2 separate regions of the Homo sapiens genome follow, and region 1 is linked to region 2. Evidence: promoter capture Hi-C in 16 types of primary human blood cells and fetal thymus (Javierre and others, 2016). All regions are on one chromosome and are shown on one strand. Each heading gives the region's core, a stretch centred on a gene start or on the middle of the fragment in contact. The rest is flanking DNA. Distances are from core to core; before and after follow the strand shown. Region 1 overlaps NUP85 (nucleoporin 85). Region 2 holds the start of KCTD2 (potassium channel tetramerization domain containing 2).

The links. The method cuts DNA at HindIII sites, captures the fragments that hold promoters and counts their contacts. A CHiCAGO score of 5 or more calls a contact.
Region 1: a contact is called between a fragment that was not itself captured here and the fragment with the promoter of KCTD2 in region 2, in 5 of 17 cell types (erythroblasts, M2 macrophages, megakaryocytes and 2 more). The highest score is 9.2, in erythroblasts.

The regions. Positions count from the first base shown.
Region 1 is chr17:75,208,844-75,215,657 of GRCh38, forward strand. It overlaps NUP85 (nucleoporin 85), which reads left to right. Exons shown (of 19, transcript NM_024844.5): 3 at 980-1,142; 4 at 3,149-3,219; 5 at 4,233-4,276. Among named protein-coding and RNA genes, the nearest start is that of NUP85, 6.6 kb to the left of the region's middle. The HindIII fragment of the contact is 5,491 bases long and covers 1,781-6,814 here.
Region 2 is chr17:75,045,667-75,052,992 of GRCh38, forward strand. It overlaps KCTD2 (potassium channel tetramerization domain containing 2), which reads left to right and starts at 1,559. Exons shown (of 6, transcript NM_015353.3): 1 at 1,559-1,923; 2 at 3,554-3,662. The coding sequence starts at 1,585. It overlaps ATP5PD (ATP synthase peripheral stalk subunit d), which reads right to left and starts at 1,303. Exons shown (of 6, transcript NM_006356.3): 1 at 1,259-1,303. RefSeq lists enhancers at 770-839, 778-1,363, 1,248-1,542 and a silencer at 1,240-1,669. The HindIII fragment of the contact is 5,200 bases long and covers 1-4,332 here.

The DNA of each region.
Region 1 (6,814 bases), core at 3,276-5,775, 170 kb after region 2:
GTGATCCTCTGCCTCAGTCTTCCTAGTAGCTGAGACTACAGGTCACCATGCCACCACGCCCAGCTAATTTTTTTTTCTTTGTAGAGATGGGAGTCTCATTTTGTTGCCTAGGCTGGTCTCGCACTCCTGGCCTCAAGCGATCCTGTTGCATTTTGGCATTTTTATTTTTGAAATGTTAGCTATTTTAGATTTTCATTGATTTTTGAGATCTTGAAGATGTTGAATCCCGGAAAAAAATTAATAGTTTTCATGAAAAATTTTCTTCATATTTAAAATGTCAAGCTTTTTATCCCTTTTTCTTTGTCCAAAGTGACCAAATTCCTATCAGTAGCTCCCTTATTGTGAACCTTGCAGATGCTTGGCCGTCACTTTTGTGTCCACAGCATGGATTCAGCTGAATAATAGTTCTGTAGGCTGAGCTGAGCCGTAGCATCCAAGGCACAGATGGAGCTGGAGAGTGACATAGCTTGTCCTTGGCTTGATTTTCCTGAGTTCCATCAGCTATTGGATAGGATGTGAATCTTTTTCTTTTCCTGATACAGTGATACAGTCTCCTTCCAGTAGAAGGATAAAACTGGAATCTTGACATTTGATTTGCTTTCTTTTTTTTTTTTTTTTTTTGAGACGGAGTCTCGCTCTGTCCAGGCTGGAATGCAGTGGTGTGATCTCGGCTCACTGCCACCTCCGCCTCCCGGTTTGAAGCAATTCTCCTGCCTCAGTCTCCTGAGTAGCTGGGAATGAAGGCATGTGCCACCACGCCCAGCTAATTTTTGTATTTTTAGTAGAGACAGGGTTTTGCTATGTTGGCCAGCCTGGTCTCGAATTCCTGACCTCGTGATCTGCCTGCCTTGGCCTCCCAAAGTGCTGGGATTATAGGCAAGAGCCACCATGCCCGGCCACAGAAAATTTTTTTAGAGTAGATTCACTTTTGGAGATGATCATAATAGATGTTAAATTTTTTTTTTCTGTTTGGTTTCAGAAAAATCAGAGATGGTGCCAAGTTGCCCCTTTATCTATATCATCCGTAAGGATGTAGATGTTTACTCTCAAATCTTGAGAAAACTCTTCAATGAATCCCATGGAATCTTTCTGGGCCTCCAGAGAATTGACGAAGAGTTGACTGGAAAATCCAGAAAATCTCAGTAAGTTGGTTGCTGTTTGGTGTTGAAGCCCACACTACACTGTGGAAAGCCAAATGAAGTACATTGTTGTCTTTTTGTGTGTTTTATGGGTTGCGTAAAGAAATAAGAGACTCCTGGTTCTAGTTGAGGCATGAGTACTGGACAGTGTACATTAGCAGTGATGGGAAGACTTAGCGGGAATATGCAAATGCTATTGATGGGCTGGCTTGACAAGCTTTATTTATATTCATATTTTACTTAGCCTCTAAAGAAGAAAATTTAGGCCACACAAGCATGTGAGAGTCGTTGAATGAGGTCACATTGTTGGGAGATTTGAAAATTAATATAAACCTAACAGTTTTGTCTCTAAAAAATTATGGTTCAGACGTTATTTGACAACAGACCAGAAAACTCTCGTACTATTTATAGATTAGGATTTTCTTGAATTGTAGTTCATAACTTCATCATTATCAGAGTGGTACTTGTTAATTGTAGACTTTTGGGACCCACCTCAGATCATCAAAATCAAAATCTCCGTGGTTGGATCTTAAAATCTCCAGCACACTGAAGTTTAAGAACTCCTGTGTTAGATTTTTGTCAGCGTCCCTTCACATGGATGGCTAGGGAATGGGCAGTGTTGGTATGTTACTTCTTTGATAAGCTTTTCACAAATGAATCATTCTGGACAAGACTCAGGTCAGCTTCTGTGTGAGTGTGTGCAAGAGTGATTATTGGTTGTTTTTCTGTTTTTTTTCGAGGCAGAGTTTCGCTCTGTCACCCAGGCTGGAGTGCAGTGACGCGTTCTCCGCTCACTGTAAGCTCTGCCTCCTGGATTCACGCCATTCTCCTGCCTCAGCCTCCCGAGTAGCTGGGACTACAGGCGCCTGCCACCACATCCGGCTAATTTTTTGTATTTTTAGTAGAGACGGGGTTTCACCGTGTTAGCCAGGATGGTCTCGATCTCGTGACCTCGTGATCCACCTGCTTCGGCCTCCCAAAGTGCTGGGATTACAGACGTGAGCCACTGTGCCTGGCCCTGTTTTTTTTTTTTTTTTTGAGACAGAGTTTCACTCTGTCACCCAGGCTGGAGTGCAGTGGCGCAATCTTGGCCCACTGCAGCCTCTGCCTCCTGGGTTGAAGCCATTCTCCTGCCTCAGCCTCCTGAGTAGCTGGGATTACAGGTGCGTGCCACCACGCCTGGCTAATTTTTGCATTTTTAGTAGAGATGGGGTTTCATCATTTTGGCTGGGCTGGTCTTGAACTCCTGACCTCAAGTGATCTGCCCACCTCAGCGTCCCAAAGTGCTGGGATTATAGGAGTGAGCCACTGCACCTGGCCTGATTATTGGATTTAAGGGACTCTAGTGGAGAATATTGGTGAGTTTGAGAAATCTATTGTCACTTCTAGGAAAAAAACATGTCAAAAGTCCTGTAATTCCTTGCTGGCAGGGGACCCTGTCTTATTCTTTTTTTTTTTTTTTCAGATGGAGTCTCACTCTGTCGCCCAGGCTGGAGTGCAATGGCATGATCTTGGCTCACTGCAACCTCCGCCTGCCGGGTTCAAGAGATTCTCCTGCCTCAGCCTCCTGAGTAGCTGGGATTTTTGTATTTTTAGTAGAGACAGGGTTTCACCAGGTTGGCCAGGCTGGTCTCAAACACCTGACCTCAGGTGATCTGCCCACTTTCACCTCCCAAAGTGCTGGGATTACACGCCTGAGCCACCGGGCCTGGCCAGTAAATACATTTATGTATCTTTTTTATTTTTTTGAGACAAGGTCTGACCAGTAGATTTCATCTGCAACAATTAATGGCAGTATGGGTTTGTGGATATTAACTTTAGCCCATGGGTTGTTTTGTGGCGTTTTATTTTGTTGTCCAAGTTGTTCCAGCTTCAGAAGGTTAGGAGCTCCTTCACAACGGCTCTCCTCTTTCTTTCAGCAAATTTCTGCATTTATTTGAGTGTTTCCTTCCTTTGTGGCACTACAAGATGTTCCAGGCTCATCTTGTGTGTTATTTCATTTTTTGTAGATTGGTTCGAGTGAGTAAAAACTACCGATCAGTCATCAGAGCATGTATGGAGGAAATGCACCAGGTTGCAAGTAAGGACTGTGTGCGCGTGCGCGCGTGTGTGTGTGTGTGTGTGTGTGGGTATTTTGAGTATTTATCTATGCATAAATACTGTGAGGTAAAGTTTGATTGATATTCCAGTCCAAAACTTATTTTTCCATCTTTCATAATCCTTACTTTTTTGGTAATCATTTAGAGGTTTTTTTTTTTGTTGTTGTTTTTTTTTTTTTTTTTTTTTTTTTTTTTTTTTTTTTTTGAGACCGAGTGTTGCTCTGTCGCCCAGGCTGAGGTGCTGTGGCATGAACTCAGGTCACTGCAACCTCCACCTCCCAGGTTCAAACGATTCTCTAGCCTCAGCCTCCTGAGTAGCTGGGACTACAGTTGTACACCACCAAGCCCAGAGTTCTGGGATTACAGGAGTCAGCCACTGTGCCTGGAGTTTTTTTTTTTTTTTTTTTTTTTTTTTGAGACAAGGTTGCCCAGGCTGGAGTGCAAAGAAACATTATGGCTCACTGCAGTCATGAGCTCACCGCCTGGGCTCAAGTGATCTTCCTACCTCATCCTTCCAAGTAGTTGGGACTGCAGGTGTGTACTACCATGCCCAGCTAATTTAAACAGTTTTTGTCCAGTTTTCCTCAGAGAACTTTGTTCTGATAATTTTTAAATTATTTGTAGAAACGGGGTCTCCCTAATTTTTCCAGGCTGTTCTTGAACTCCTGGGCTCAAGCAGTCCTTTGACATCAGCCTCCCAAAGTGTCGGGATTACAGGTGTGAGCCACTGTGCTTGGCATGTCAGAGACCTTTATGGTAGCTGTGTTGCAGTTGAAAGTGCCATTTTGTAACTTGAGGGCTTTTGGTTTGAGAATTGAAGGGATATGAAGCATTAACAGCAACAAAAAAATCCATAATTAAAAGAGATTATAATGTCTTTTAATTTTTCTCATTAAAATAAACAGAGGCTCAAGCCATAGACCCTGGAATATTCAGCTATGACAATAAGCCTAAGAGTTCCATTGCTCACTTAAAATGTTTTGTGTTTTGTTAGTTGCTGCTAAAGATCCAGCCAATGGCCGCCAGTTCAGCAGCCAGGTAAGGGGAGTCACCTTTATTGTTTTAGCACCACTGTGTCCTGTGTCCTGGGCACCCACCTGGGGTGGCTTTGCAGTTCCTGTTATGGCAGAAGTCTCTTCTTTTCAGGTAGATAGGCAGCTCCTTTGGGTGACAGTGATTGTCTTGCCCCCTTCAAGGTGTAGCTCACAAGGAAGTGCTTGTTAAATACTTGAGTGAATGTTCGGTTCCTTTTTTTTTTTTTTGAGATGGAGTCTTGCTCTGTCACCCAGGCTGGAGTGCCCTGGGTTCAAGCATTTCTCCTGTCTCAGCCTCCCGAGTAGCTGGGATTATAGGTGCATGCCACACCAAGCCCAGCTACTTTTTGCATTTTTAGTAGAGATGGGGTTTCACCATGTTGGCCAGGCTGGTCTTGAACTTTTGACCTCAAGTGATCCACCCGCCTCGACCTCCCAAAGTGGTGGGATTACAGGTGTAAGCCACCGTGCTGGCCCTGAATGTTCCGTTCTTATGGAACATATATGTCCTGACCAAATTGTGTTGAGGGGTTGTCACCTGAAATGGAGAAGTAATCTTGTGAGATCACTGCTCGGTCTCATAAACACTCCTCACTTCTTGAACTCAACATTTTTTTTTTGAAAGACAGGGTCTCTCTGTGTTGTCAAAGCTGGTCTCGAACTCTTGGGCTCAAGTGATCCTCCTGCCTTGGCCTCCCAAAGTGCTGGGATTATAGGTGTGAGCTGCCACACCTGGCAAAACTCAAGTTTTTTTTTTTTTTTTTTTTTTTTTTTGAGACGGAGTCTCTCTCTGTCGCCCAGGCTGGAATGCAGTGGCGCGATCTCGGCTCACTGCAAGCTCCGCCTCCCAGGTTCATGCCATTCTCCTGCCTCAGCCTCCCGAGTAGCTGGGCTAATTTTTTGTATTTTTAGTAGAGAGGGGGTTTCACCGTGTTAGCCAGGATGCTCTCGATCTCCTGACCTCGTGATCTGCCTGCCTCAGCCTCCCAAAGTGCTGGGATTACAAGTGTGAGCCACTGCGCCCGGCTAAACTCAACATTTTTACTGAGTTGCAAGTGGCTCTACTTTACTTGGAGCTGGAAGATGACTTACAGTATCTTTTTCCTCAGTAGATGCTTCATATTAGATACTTTTCAAAGTCAGTAGTGACTAGGTAGTAATTCACTGTCTCTGAAGTACCCTTATGAACAAGTCATCATGGTGTCTGTGGACTGAAGGATGGTGAGGAAGGGAAGCCTGCGTATTCCTAAGGGCAAGGTCCAGGTCTGATTTATTTCGGGGTCTTATATTGGGCTTTCCCGTTAATAGACTGTTCCCCTAAACTTCAGTCCTTTGAATACCAGCTTCACAATTCTTGCTCTGTCTACGTGTTTCATGTCATCTACTGAATATTCTTCTAAATATTGTCTCTTCTTTTTACTCAAATGAAGCACCTTGCTAAAGCATCAGTTCATCAAGATAGGCTGGGCGCAGTGGCTCACGCCTGTAATCCCAGCACTTTGAGAGGCCGAGGTGGGTGGATCTCTTGAGGTTAGGAGTTCGAAACTAGCCTGGCCAACACGGAAACTCCATCTCTACTAAAAATACAATATTTAGCTAGGCGTGGTGGTGTGCGCCTGTAATCCCAGCCACTTGGGAGGCTGAGGCAGGAGAATTGCTTGAACCCTGGAGGCAGAGGTTGCAGTGAGCCGAGATCATGCCACTGCACTCCAGCCTGACTGACAGAGTGAGACTCTGTCTCAAAAAAAAAAACAAAAAACAAAAACTGAGTGTTGGCAGGGCACGGTGGCTCAAGCCTGTAATCCCAGCACTTTGGGAGGCCGAGGCAGGTGTATCACGAGGTCAGGAGATCGAGACCTTCCTGGCTAACAAGGTGAAACCTCGTCTCTACTAAAAATACAAAAAATTAGCTGGGCATGGTGGCAGGCGCCTGTAATCCCAGCTACTGGGGAGGCTGAGGCAGGAGAATCACTTGAACCCGGGAGGCGGAAGTTGCAGTGAGCCAAGATTATGCCACTGCACTCTAGCTTGGGCAGCAAGAGCCAAACTCCATCTCAAAAGATAAATAAATAATAACTGGTGACATGCAAGTTATATTTTTTCTTTTTTTAAATTTTGAGACAAGGTCTCGCTCTTGCCCAGGCTGGAATAGTGGCACGATTATGGCTCACTCAGACTCAACTTCCTGGGCTCAAGTGATGCTCCCACCTCAGCCTCCTGAGTAGCTGAGACTGCGGGGATATGTCACTACACTTGGCCAATTTTTATATTTTTTGTTGAGACAGGATCTTGCCATGTTGCTCAAGCTGGTCTCAAACTCCTAGACTCAAGCATTCCACCTGCCTTGGCCTCCCAAAGTGCTGGGATTACAGGAATGAGCCACTGCACCTGGCCAAGTTATTTTTGTAATGCACAGTAAAATAAAATCACAACCACTAAAACAAAATAGTGTTGGTCTCCATCCCACCACCTAACATCCTCACGCTGGCTCCCCTGTGGGAAATCCTCCAGTAGGATTGCAGTAACCTTTGGGTTAAGGAAT
Region 2 (7,326 bases), core at 309-2,808:
CTCTTGTTCCCTGAACAATTGCTGTTATCCTGTTCTTTTTTCAGGGTGCCCACATTTCATATTGCTCAAACACACATGCTGTACAATTTTTGTAGTTAACACAATTATTACAGGGTCCTGGAACGATATACATCCTCAACTGACAGGATTAAGAGATTAAAGACAAGACAGGCATAGGAAATCAGAAGAGTATTGACTGGGGAAGTGATAAGTGTCCATGAAATCTCTACAATTTATGTTTAGAGATTGCAGTAAAGACAGGCATAAGAAATTACAAAAGTATTAATTTGGGGAACTAATAAATGTCCATAAAATCTTCACAATCCACGTTCTTCTGCCATGGTTTCAGCCGGTCTCTCTGTTTGGGGTCCCTGATTTCCCGCAACATCAGTGGAAAATGGAAGTCACAAATAACTTTGTGTGTGTGTGTGAGTGAGACGGAGTCTCGCACTGTCGCCTGGGCTGGAGTGTAGTGGCGTGGTCTCGGCTCACTGCAACCTCCGCCTCCCGGGTTCAAGCGATTCTCCTGCCTCAGCCTCCCGAGCAGCTGGGATTATAGGGGCCTTCCACCACGCCCAGCTAATTTTTTGTATTTTTAGTAGAGGCGGGGTTTCACTACGTTGGCCAGGCTGGTCTCGAACTCCTGACCTCGCGATTCGCCCGCCTTGGCCTCCTAAAATTCTGGGATTACAGGCGTGAGCCACCGCGCCCGGCGAAATTTTTTTTAATTCTTAAAAATCTATTGCTTAATCCCCAGCGCCTAGAACAGATCATGCGCATAGGAGGTGCTCAATGAATCTTTCTTGAATGAGTAACCGAACTCTGCACCCGAGGAGCCCTGAACGCTCTATACGTTCGAATCCTGGAAGCTGCCGAAGGGGAAGGGCGCAGCCCCGCAGCCAGCTGAGCGTCCCTCGGCAGGTTAACACTGTCTGCGTAATGTTTCCCCAGTCCCCCCACCAAACTATTGAAGTCTGCCGCGCTGGGAGCGGACTGCACGAGACACGGCTTGTGGCAGCGCCTACATCAGCGGCGCCTGGGACACAGCCGGGCCCCCCTGACCCCGCGCGCCAAGGAGGGCTGAGGAAGGGATCGCGGGGCGAGGAGCGGCAGCTACACAAGGGACACTCTGCCAGCGGGGCAAGCCGAGGGCCCAGCGTCCTTGACGGGGGCGTGACAAGGGTCGGCGTGAGGTTTGGAGAGGGCAGAGCAGAGGAGCCCTCCAGGGATCGGATCCAATGCCCCAAGCCCCACTCACCTTCACCGACCCTGGCTGCCCACGGTCCTCCGCAGCAAGTAACGGAAGTGGGTCACGGGAAGATCTTTCCTCAGCCAACCCCAAAGCCAAGGGGGTGGGCCTTGCTTCGCAGATCAGCCAATAGAGATGAGGGCTGGTTCCGGAAGTATCTTCCCGGGGGCGGGCACAGCGCCTCCCCCGCGCGGGTCCCCGGGCGCTGGTTGGGGGCGCTCCCGTCCCTCTCCCCTCTGCCCCACCCCCGCCGATGGGCCGGCCCGGCTCTCCCTGCCGAGAAATGGGCCGGCCCGGCTGCGCGCGGGCAGCAGCGGTGGCGGCGGCGGTCCAAGATGGCGGAACTGCAGCTGGACCCGGCGATGGCGGGGCTGGGAGGGGGCGGCGGGAGTGGGGTGGGCGACGGGGGTGGCCCAGTCCGCGGGCCCCCCAGCCCACGCCCGGCTGGCCCCACGCCCCGCGGGCACGGCCGCCCGGCTGCCGCCGTCGCGCAGCCGCTGGAGCCGGGTCCCGGACCACCCGAGCGGGCAGGGGGCGGCGGCGCGGCCCGCTGGGTCAGGCTGAACGTGGGAGGCACCTACTTCGTGACCACCAGACAGACCTTAGGCCGGGAGCCCAAGTCATTTCTCTGCCGCCTCTGCTGCCAGGAGGACCCGGAGCTGGACTCAGACAAGGTGTGCCCCGCCCTCGGGCGCGCCCCCGGGCCTTCGAACCCCCTGGTTTCTCGTAGATCGGTCCCCAGAGTCCTGAGACACGCTCCTCACAGGCAGCCCCCTCAGGCCGGGACCCCATCCTCCCCCTCCCTCCCACACTACTCGCAGGGGCCTCAGAGGGACCTCCCACTCCCCTTCTTCCATGCTGAGGCATACTCTGGCTTTCTCCCCGACCCCGCCCTTCGTTCTCTGAGACTCCTTCCCACACTGCGCCCACCTGCACCCACGAGAACGCACTCCACACCCCTTCTCCATATTCTCTGCCCCTGACATCCCACTGAGATCTGCATGAGTTTTCCCTGGCTCCTCTTCAGTCCCCCCACTGCCGGTGCCAGATGCATCCAGAACTGGGTCAGGGTTAGCTCAGGCATCCTTGTAGCTTTCTCAGACTCCCTCTCGGACCCCTCTGCCAAGTTGGGCTTCCACAGCTGCAGGAAGCGCTCCTTGTGATATCACACTGCTTTTCTATAGTCCTGGTCGCAGAACTTTTATCTGTTAACAGTCACTGGTTTAGGTCCATATTTAGATCAAATGCGTTTTTTGGAAAGAGGTTACTGTTTGCCGCTGCAAATCTAGGCTAAGACAGAAGGAAAATGAAAATTTTCCCGGGAAAATTTTGGGCAGGATGCATGGCTGCTAACCAAAGGGTTGAGAGGTGACAAGACACTTAAACCATTTCCAGTTTGAACTGTGTCAATTTCTTTTTAACTTTACGTATTCACCTTTAAGTTCTCAACTTAAAGGCACTGACCATAACTCACACCATCTTATATCCCATATAGCACTCAGCTGGTGACCTCAAAACAGAGCTGGAGTTGCGTAAACATTTGTTGTTTTCGTTTATTCCTCTTCTCTAAGAAATCTCAGATTGATGGAAACCTATCCTGCCCTAACTTTAAAGAGATTTCAAAACCCTTGCTTATAAAGGAATTATTTTTATCTACTCTATATCCTCCTTGTGGTAATAGAAGCCAGTTTCTTCTTGTTCCTTTTACTGTAAAGATGAGTAGGATTAAAGCTGCTCAGAGCCAAGTCCTGGCAGTACCGAGCTTCCTCTGGGCACAGAGCTGGGGTGTGTGAGATTACAGCTGGCAGTGCAAACTCCCACTGATGTTGGCCTTGAGCTCAGGAGCATTGCCAACTACACAGAGGTTTTCTTGGAATTAGGAATGCAGTTCAGAGGCAGTGGAAAAGTCAGAATGTCCATCTCAAGCAAAGATTTCAGTTACACAGCTACGGCATTTTCTCCCTTTCTTAATAACAAACACGCTACAGAAGAATGTTTGTCACTGTAATTATTGTCCAGGCAAAGATTGCAAATTCCAGCCAGTAAGTAAACGCCTAAATGAGTATGACTGTCTGTAACACCCTACCTAAGATGATCTTAATGTACAAGATACATAAAGCTATAGCTTTCTTACCAATAGTTTGTGACAAATGTGTAACAAAATTTGCCATCACTAAAGTCTTTTTTAGCTGATGGAATGAATTGTTGTCTTGGGGCGCTGACAAAGATGGTGAAATCCTGCCCTGCCTTTGTTTAAAATACTCCTCAAAGGTCCACAATGATACCCTTGTGTTTGGTTGGCAGGATGAGACAGGAGCCTATCTGATTGACAGGGACCCCACCTACTTTGGTCCTATCCTCAACTACCTCCGCCACGGGAAACTCATCATCACTAAGGAGTTGGCAGAAGAAGGTAAGCGCACTGTTTGCATTGGGGATTTTCAAAATGCAAGTAGAATCTTTAAAGTTGTTTTACAGATTTCAATTTTGTTTGACATTTTCATCAGGCGCATGTGCAGGTATAGTTTCAGGTTTATGAAACAGAGCAGAAACTACCAGTCTTGTCTGAGGGAGTCATGATTAAGGAAGCCTCCTTAGGCTTTGTTCAGCTTCCTGGGTGAGAAGGAAGATAGGTAGCTCCGCTTTGCAGATAACTTCAGGAGTTCTTTCCGAATCTCCAGAATTGTCACGATCCTTTTTTTACATTTGTTTGTGTGCTAGCAGTGAGTGTCTGTAGTCTGAAGAAGCAAGACATCTCTGACATTCAATTATTTATAGTTTTAATTTTGGTTTGAACTCACAGTTGTACAAAAATAATAAAGGCTTGGCCTCATTTCTTTTAAGACTCTGGCCTCATGCTTCCCTGTAAATGTTTGCAGCTGACCTAATTCATTCTCTAGTTCATTGTCAGGTGTATCATTACTTGCCTCATCTTTGTGGTTTGTAGGGCATTGGGACTATAAGTGGGTCTAGTCCACTTTCTACAAGGCTTGGCATGGTCCCACTGAAGGCATTCAGTTGTAAAGGGGACTGTCCCTAAATCCAGGGCACCCTGATCTGGGAGCTTTGGCTCTGAGTAAGAAAGCTTGTAATGGCTGTACTAGTTAATGAAGTGACTGTGAAACAACTCTGTTTCAGCTAGTAGAAAGAGGAATTGCTCTCTCTCTCTTTTTTTAAATGTCCCTTTTTAAACAATATTTCAAACGCATACAGAAGTAATGGGAATAGTACATACAGTGAATTCCTTGCATCCACTATCCAGCTTCAACAATTACCAACTCATGGGTGATCTTAATCTTATTTATTTTTCTTTTTTAATTTTTGTAAGTACCTAGTAGGTGTATATATTTATGGGGTACATGAGATTTTTCTTTTTTTTTTCTTCGCTCAGGCTGGAGTGCACTGGCACAATCTTGACTCACTGCAACCTCAGCCTCCTGGGTTCAAGCGATTCTCCTGCCTCAGCCTCCCAAGTAGCTGGGATTACAGGCGTGCACCACCATGCTTGACTAATTTTTTGTATTTTTAGTAGAGACAGGGTTTCACCATGTTGACCAGGCTGGTCTTGAACTCCTAACCTCAAGTGATCCACCTGCCTCAGCCTCCCAGAGTGCTGGGATTACAGGCCTGAGCCTCCGCGCCCGACCTGAGATGTTTGGATATAGGCATGCAGTGTGAAATAAGCACATCATGGAGAATGGGGTATCCATCCCCTCAAGCATTTATCCTTTGTGATACAAAAATTCAATTACCCTCTTTTAGTTAAGTATCTTTTCTAATGCCTTTAATTAAAAAAACTTTATTTTGAAGTAATTTAAAACTTCAAAATAAGCAAGAAAAGAGCAAGAATAACACAGAGAACTCCCTATATCCCAGATTAACCAATTTTCAATGTTATTTTTGTCATATTTGGGGTATGGGGAGATCTTTTTGTTGTTTTTTTAAGAGTCAGAGTCTATCTTATCTTGCCCAGGCTGGTCTCAAATGTCTGGCCTCACATGCTCCTCCTGCCTCAGCCTCCTGAGTAGCTGCGATTATAGGCATGAGCCATCATGCCCAGCTTTTTTTTTTTTTTTGAGACGGAGTCTTGCTCTGTTGCCCAGGCTGGAGTGCAGTGGCGCAATCTCGGCTCACTGCAAGCTCCACCTCCCAGGTTCACGTCATTCTCCTGCCTCAGCCTCCCGAGTAGCTGGGACTATAGGCGCCCACCACCACACCCAGTTAATTTTTTGTATTTTTAGTAGAGACAGGGTTTCACCATATTAGCCAGGATGGTCTCATCTCGATCTCCTGACCTTGTGATCTGCCTGCCTCAGCCTCCCAAAGTACTGGGATTACAGACATGAGCCACCGCGCCCGACCTTTTTTTTTTTTTTTTTTTTTTTTGGCGACAGAGTCTCCCTCTGTTGCCCAGGCTGGAGTGCAATGGCACTATCACAGCTCACTGCGACATCCACCTCCCGGGTTCAAGCGATTTTCCTGCCTCAGCCTCCTGAGTACCTGGGATTACAGGTGCATGCCACCACGCCTGGCTAATTTTTTTATTTTTGGTAGAGACGGGGGTTTCACCATGTTGGTCAGGCTGGTCTTGAACTCCTGACCTCGTGATCCACCCGCCTTGGCCTCCCGAAATGCTGCGATTACAGGCGTGAGCCACCATGCCCGACCTTTTTTTTTTTTAAATCATATTTGCATTGTCCTTCATTCTCTATTTCCCCCTCCCTACCCCCATCCTCTTGCCTCTCCCACCACAGTTATTTCTGAACTATTTGAGAATAGATTGCAGATTTCACCCCTTAATATTTGTATATATTTCCCAAGAACAAGGATACTGTTTTATGTAACCACAGACAGTACAGTTATCAAACTCAGGAAATTTAATACTGATGCTTTTATCTACAGCTTATATTGCAGTTTTGTCAGTTGTCCTAATAATGGCCTTTATAGCAAATTTATTCCTATAGGATCACACGTCTCATAGTTGCCCTAAGGCCTTTGAGTTCATTTAGCATGCAAGTCTTTAAATGGTTGCCTTTTATATTGTTCAAATGATTAGCATCCTATTAAGTTTGGCCCACATAAATTTGTACACACACCTCCACCCCCACCCCCAGTCCTTTTGAGGGCAGATTGGACAAAAATATCAAGTTCAGGAGGTGTCCAACATGACTAGTTCCAGGAACTAAGTGACATATGGGAAAAGTGTCCTGCAGCTAATGGGCAGGTGCCAGGTAGGGAAAGGAGGGTTGAAATGGAGTGAGCAGAACATACCCTGGCGTTTGACTAATTTATGTTGGAGAAAAGGTCATGGGTTTACCGAAAATAGCAAAGAGATATTTCCTAGCAGAAGGAGAGAGATTGGATTTGCATTTAAATAATGCAGTTTTTAGGCCAGGAGCTGTGGCTCATGCCTGTAATCCCAACACTTGGAAGGCCAAGGTGGGCGGATCACTTGAGGTTAGGAGTTTGAGACCAGCCTGGCCAACATGGCAAAACCCCGTCTCTGCGAAAAATACAAAAATTGGCTGGGTGCGGTGGCTTTACGCCTGTAATCCCAGAACTTTGGGAGGCCAAGGCAGATGGATCACCTGAGGTCAGGAGTTCAAGACCAGCCTGACCAACATGATGAAACCCTGTCTCTACTAAAAATACAAAAAATTAGCCAGGCGTGGTGGCAAGCGCCTGTAATCCCAGCTACTTGGAAGGCTGAGGCAGCAGAATCTCTTGAACCCAGCAGGCGGAGTTTGCAGTGAGCCAAGATCATGCCATTGCACTCCAACCTGGGCAACAAGAATGAAACTCTGTTTCGGGCGGGGGGAAAAAATAGAAACAGCCGGGTGTGGTGGTATGTGCCTGTAGTCCCAGCTACTTGGGAGACTGAGGCAAGAGAATCATTTGAACGCAGGAGGCGGAGGTTGCCGTGAGCCAAGATCGCACCACTGAACTCCAGCCTGGGCGACAGAGTAAGACTCCGTCTCAAAAAATAAGTAAATAAATAAATAAGCAGTTTTTAGCAAGCATGTAACCTTCATCCTCTCCTTGGTGTTTTTCTGGCAAACCCTCGCACCTATCTGACT